Regions from separate parts of the Homo sapiens genome. Here region 1 is linked to region 2. Evidence: promoter capture Hi-C in 16 types of primary human blood cells and fetal thymus (Javierre and others, 2016). All regions are on one chromosome and are shown on one strand. The core of a region is centred on a gene start or on the middle of the fragment in contact, and the rest is flanking DNA. Distances in the headings are between cores, read along the strand shown. Region 1 holds the start of ERCC6 (ERCC excision repair 6, chromatin remodeling factor). Region 2 holds the start of CSTF2T (cleavage stimulation factor subunit 2 tau variant).

What was found. The method cuts DNA at HindIII sites, captures the fragments that hold promoters and counts their contacts. A CHiCAGO score of 5 or more calls a contact.
Region 1: a contact is called between the fragment with the promoter of ERCC6 here and the fragment with the promoter of CSTF2T in region 2, in 2 of 17 cell types (non-activated CD4 T cells and activated CD4 T cells). The highest score is 6.5, in non-activated CD4 T cells.

Annotation. Positions count from the first base shown.
Region 1 is chr10:49,537,351-49,540,453 of GRCh38, forward strand. ERCC6 (ERCC excision repair 6, chromatin remodeling factor) reads right to left here and starts at 1,771. Exons shown (of 21, transcript NM_000124.4): 1 at 1,612-1,771. RefSeq lists silencers at 280-468, 1,414-1,703 and enhancers at 2,124-2,183, 2,214-2,453. The HindIII fragment of the contact is 12,532 bases long and covers 1-3,103 here.
Region 2 is chr10:51,697,752-51,700,898 of GRCh38, forward strand. It overlaps CSTF2T (cleavage stimulation factor subunit 2 tau variant), which reads right to left and starts at 1,844. Exons shown (of 1, transcript NM_015235.3): 1 at 1-1,844. The coding sequence starts at 1,798. The region is part of intron 3 of PRKG1 (protein kinase cGMP-dependent 1); the gene reads left to right. RefSeq lists enhancers at 1,532-2,111, 2,236-2,924 and a silencer at 2,678-2,972. The HindIII fragment of the contact is 5,025 bases long and covers 1-2,856 here.

The DNA of each region.
Region 1 (3,103 bases), core at 521-3,020, 2.2 Mb before region 2:
AAAAAAAAAGAAAGAAAGAAATCATACATTTAACAAATAGTTACTGAGAGTTAATTACACCAGGCAATGTACTAGGTTAACTAATTCCTGTCCCCAAAGAGCTTAGAGTCTCATGGGAAAAACAGACATTTAAAAACTATATATATATATATACACATACACACACACACACACACACACACACAAATATAATTGTGGTGACTGCTGTTAAGAGGAAAGTACAAGGCTTTCTGACAAAATGAGAGAAACCAAATTGAAATTGTGGAGGTAGATGTGGGGTCAAGGAGGCCTCTCTGATAAAGTGACATCTGATAAGTCAGTCAGGTCGAAAGTAAAGTGAACGTCTTGCAAGGAAACAACGTGTGAAATTTTTTTTTTTTTTGAGACGGAATTTCGCTCCGGTTGCCCAGGCTGGAGTGCAACCTCCGCCAGGCTCCGCCAGGCTCACTGCAACCTCCGCCTTCCGGGTTCAAGCGATTCTCCTGCCTTGGCCTCCCGATTAGCTGGGATTACAGGCATATGCCATCATGCCCGGCTAATTTTTCGTATTTAGTAAAGACAGGGTTTCACCACGTTGGTAAGGCTGGTCTCGAACTCCTGACCTCGGGTGATCCACCCACCTCGGCCTCCCAACAACGTGCGTAACTTTTAAGACTAGAAAGAGCTGATGCACTTGTGAAAATGCAAGAAGGCTGGAACACCGAATTTTTGACTTTATTTTTAACTTTGAGTTAAGAAGAGCAGAGAAGGGCTCCGTTCATGGCCTAAGTCTTGCAGAGTATCTTCTAAGGCTTAATCATCTGGGACACTAGTATCTTCACCGTCCTCCCCCATCACTGGGGCTCCCGCAGCCAGGGGCAAGCTGGGTCTCATTTGGAGGGTTGGTCGGACACAGGCACAGTTCTGAGAGGGGACAGGCAAGGGCCAAATCACACAAGGCCTGGGAAAACACGAGCATGGATTCCACTCCCAGTGCAATGGAATGACTCTGAAAACTGTTAAGTAGGCTGATGATGGCATGACCTACTTTATGCCAGAGACCACCTGGACAACTGTGCGGATAATGGATTGGAGGAGACAAAGCAACAAGAAGATGATGGGAAAAGTTGAGGAGAAAAGCGAGGGCTGCCTGTCACAGGATGACAGCAGTTAAGACGCTGCGTGGAAGTCACGTAACAGCAGCATTTACAGGCGGCCTGCCTCATCCGCCCACACTCTTATCAATTTGACTCTATCAACGCCCAAAACGTCGGACGTACATCTAGCCCGACTCTCTTTAAAATAACAGCTCCAGCATTTTAATCGAGATCAAAAAGGACCCAGCTGACCCTGCGCGCAGGGGGCCTTATACAAAGTCGGAGAAGTAGCTGGGTCGCTGGCCGGCCAGGGACTCAAGCCGCCTCAGGTGAGCGCTCCTTGGCGCTACTTCCGGTCTCAGGTGAGGCCGCCGGAAGCGGGCACTTGGCCCTAAGACCCGCTACAGTGCGTCCTCGCTGACAGGCTCAATCACCACGGCGAGGCCAAGGCGCGGGGCCGCGGCCCGCCCGAGAAGCCTGAGCTGGGCCCCGACACCCCCTGCCCGACATTCGGCCGGGACCCCCGAACACTCACCCAGGGCCGCGCGAGCGCCCACAAGGAAACAGAGACGCTACCGCCGCCAGCCGCCTTGGAACCCAGCTCGACGGGCCGTGGCGCCTGCGCCCTCAGCTCAACCATAGACACCGCCCCCAACAGCGACTCCGACTTCTGCTGGTGCGGGGAGGCCCGTGGCGCATGCGCCTGGCTCAGCGTTTGTTTTTAAGCACGGGCAAGACCACGTGGTTTGGAGGGACGGGCTCAGCAGCGCCTTTCTACTTGCGTGCGAGCAGGGCGAGAAAGCTGTCTCCGCTGCCGGTCAGCTGGGTGGCTTGCGAAGGACGCTTCGCCCCTAGCGAAAAATACCCTGCTGGCAAGGCAGTTATGAAAGTTAAGACATATTTCCACGTAGAGGGGGATGCGGGTGTGCCATGCGAATGTAAATCCTCACAATTAACCTTGAACCCTGCAGAGAAAGTCAGCTTGGGCAGGGAAGTTAGCCGCACTTTTTGGTCGCCAGGCTGTGACCTCTCTTGTTGTCTCCCACGACTGAACACGGGAAGGATGGAGAGCTGTCCTGCTTCTCTGTTCCCCCTCCGCCACGCGCGCACCTGGGCGGAGTGAGTGCCTACAGAGCCTGCTTACATGTGTACATTGCCTTAAGTCCAGCGTTTAGTATCCGTCCTCAGATCTCAGAGGTAGGCGGGGTTTCGAGGCAGGCGAGAATTTTACCGTGGTGCGTTTGAAGAAAGAAGATGTCCACACAGAGGTTCAGAACAATGGGAGGAAGTTGAGCTTCGCCTGGGGAAAGAAGCAGCCCACGATGCAGGATGGCTGTACCAGACAGAGCTTCTCAGCTCAGGATCGGTGCTAGGAGAAGGTGGACTTTCCAGGGCCGCGAGGCAGGACGTCCTCTGGGAGGGCAGTGACTGCGGGTCACTGCCTGGGAAGTGCTGTCCTCACTTGGAAGCCTGAAGTCGGACAATAGGGAAATGGGGTCGGAAAGGGGACTAGGAAATGCTCCATAACATCATCTTATTCCTCCTGTCAGCGGCCCCAACCCACAATGTAACTTGTTTTTGTTGGTGGTAGTGGGTTTTTTTGTTTGTTTTGTTTTTGTTTTTGTTTTTGAGACGGAGTTTTGCTCTTGTCGCCCAGGATGGAGTACAATGGCACGATGTGGGCTCACTGCAACCTCCTCCTCCCAGGTTCAAGCGATTCTCCTGCCTCAGCCTGCCGGGTAGCTGGGATTACAGGCGCCTGCCACCATGCCCAGCTAATTTTTGTGTTTTTAGTAGAGACGGGGTTTCGTCATGTTAGCCAAGCTGTCCGCGAACTCCTGACCTCAGGTGATCCACCCGCCTCGGCCTCCTAGAGTTCTGGGATTACAGGTGTGAGCCACCACGCCCGGCTTGTAACTTGCTTTTTTTTTTTTTTAAAGGAGAAAGAATTCTAGCGATTTCTTGGATAAAATATTAAGAATAGAAAGGCAGTTGATTGACATTAGTTTCAATGCTTGAAAGTAAAA
Region 2 (3,147 bases), core at 594-3,093:
GCCTTTGCTCAGGGGGCAGCATGGCAATCTGATCTGCAGTCAGTTGAAGAACCTGCATGATCAAAGCTGCCTTCTCCTGATCCTGTGGAGTGACCTGGCTCTGCCCAGGACTAAAACTGCTAGGCTGGCTTCCACCTTGCTTGCTTGCCCCCTGTATACCTCCTCCTTGTATACCTCCTCCTTGTATACTGACTCCTTGTATGCCTGCCCCCTGCATCCCTCCTCCTTGTATGCCTGCTCCCTGCATGCCTGTTCCTTGTATGCCTGTACCCTGCATACCAGCTCCAGGATTCCCCACCCCTGAAATGCCTGGGACCTGTCTGGGTCCCTGAGGAGGGCCACCTGCCCCTATATTAATGGGACCAGGACCCTGAATTCCACCAGTCATAGGGCCTCTTGAACTGGGGACAGGGCCCCTCATCTCCAATCCTCTTGCATCCATGCCCCTTGCTTCCATCCCTCTGGTTTCCATCGCACAGGTCTCCATTCCTCTCCTCTCCATTACACGTGTCTCTAAGACCTCAGTTTCCATGGCACGAGTCTCCATCGCTCGAGAATCTCTACCACCTCTACCATCCATAGGTAGACCCCTTTGATCTATCATGGGGCCTCTGGGCTCTCCAATTAGCAGTCTGGGATCTCCTAATGGCCCTCCCCTCATCTCATGTGAGGAAGGGCCACGAGTGTCATGACCAGAGGCATGATGCATGGGGGGACCCTGATGGGGTGGACCCAGATAACCTCTGGGCTCCACTTCTCCAGTGACTGAAAGCAAAGTCCCTCCACGTGGGTCATTTGGAGCATCTCCTAACAGTCCTCGAGGAGGCAGACCACCAGGAGTCACGGGTCCGCGAGGTATAGGAGCTCTAGGATCTGACATCTGCACTTGTCCCCGCTCTAAAGGCACTGGGCCAACCCCTGGCATTCCAAGTTGGGGCTGCATTGCTCCTCCAGGAGTTAAGGAACCAGGACCAGCTCCGGGAACTGCAGCTGGTATTGGCCCTGGAGCTGGAATTCCACCCTGGATAGGAGTCTGCATCAGAGGAGGAATGTCCTTCACAGGTCTTCTAGCCAAATGCTGAGGCTGAGGAGCTGGAGGATTCTGCTGGTTCAGCAGAACATTAGGTCCTGGGCAGAGCCCAGGGCCAGGGCCAGGGCCAGGGCCAGAGACAGACACAGACTGAGATTTGCCTGGGATCAGTGGTGTGACATGTATCTTCCGATGCAGAATTTTCAGAGCAATCTCTGGATCCATGATTCTCATCACTACTTGTGCCTGCAACAGTGCATAAGCCAGTTGTGGATTTTGAAGTAACATGTTTCGAGCTTCCTGGTGGCTGTTTTGGACACAGAGCTTCATCTGCTTCATCAGCTCAAACATCTGCTCCGGGGGGAGACTGGCTACTGCTCTGGTAATCGATTCAGGGGCATCTTCTGGATCGATGGGATCCCCATAGGGTGAGTCAATAATGGGCGCTGCAGGCCCAAGGCTCTTTAACTCCTCCTTATTCTTTTCACTGGCAGCATTGTCCACCCGAAGCGCTCTCCCACTGAACTCCCGCCCATTGAGGTTCCGCATGGCACTAAGCGCGGTCTCCTGGTCTTGGTATTCGCAGAAGCCATAGCCCTTGGGTTTTCCCGTCTCTCTATCGTATACCAGCCGGAAACTGACAACAGAACCAACCTCCGAGAAAATGTCCTTTAACTGCTCCTCAGTTGCCTCATATGGAATGTTCCCCACGAACACGGAACGCAGTGATCGATCCATTGCCGGGTCTCTCACCGCCAAACTCGACATGATTCCGGTTGTGCAGACAGCCGATAGCGGATTCTTCGAGGCGTCTGTCCTCTTGCGACCGACACTTCCGCTGAGCAACGGAAGCGGCTTTCAAGATCCGGGCAGAAACTTTACTAATTCGCTTGAATCGTTCCGCTTGCCTGTGGAACCTGCATCCCACTAACAACTTATCTAATGCTTTCAGTCCCTGATCCTTCATGGTTCTGTCAGCTTCTTATTACAGAGTCGCATGATTCCTTTCCCATTTCACGTTCCGCTGACTTTCTGTGGGGCCCCAACAGCCCCACTACGACACGCTTGGTACGAGATGACCACAGTAAAGATGGCCGCATAGACTTCACCGTAGTAACTGGGAGGGGACTCTTCCCTTGACGTCAAAGGCGGTTTTGCTTCCGTTCCGCTGGCGGGAAACCGCCAACCGAAAGCGGATTTAAGGCGGCGTGTTTTTCGTTCTGACAAAGTATTTTCATGTGGCCTTTTATTATAGTATAGTTAAGCTAGATTTAAAATCACATTCCAGACTGAGGGAAAAGCGTAGTCGTTTCAGCACATTTGAGATTTGCCCCTTAAACTAAAACAGTATTATATCTCCTTTTTAGAACAACGTTTTTGGAAATTAACTGACAAGAAATATAAACTGAAGCGTGTGCCGGCTGGGCCCTGCCCCCATTCTGTTGCTTCCTATAACCGCTGTTAATGGATGGGTGGCAGACCCTTCTAGGTTTTTCCTGAGCACACGGGCAGCCGTCGTGCTATTCCTAATATTACGGTTTTCTTCCTTAATAACAACCGATTTCAATATTAATTGGTGATTAAATAAATTAGTGATTAATTAGTTATTAGTATTTTATGGCTTCAGAGTATGGAATAAAGAAATTTACTTAACTATCCCTACGTTGATTGGTTCTGATTTTTATTATATCATGCAGTGAGTCCACCACTTCCATGAAGGGAGAAACAAATAGCGGGTGTTTGTCTTCTGCTGTTAGCTTTGCAGGTAGGAGTTAAAACATATTCAGTGTGGTGTTTCCCCGCCTGCAATTCGAAGCTAGAACTGAAGCTTGGAGAGGGCTAGGTAAATTCCCAAGGACAAGCAGCTGGAAAGAGGCCAAGTCAGGATTCTAACCCAGCTTGGTCTCGCATAGCTCCAATTCTACACTGCCTTACGTGTATTGAATATATGAAATGAAGCTAGTGTGATTGAAGAAATGAATTTTAAATCTCATTTTTTATTTAAATATAAAAACTAATGTTCAGTAAGCTATTGGAAAACTTTTTTAGTATTTAGAACAACTTGGATATAGAATCTACTTTTGCAATAATAAATTGTGTTCTAAATAAAAATCATT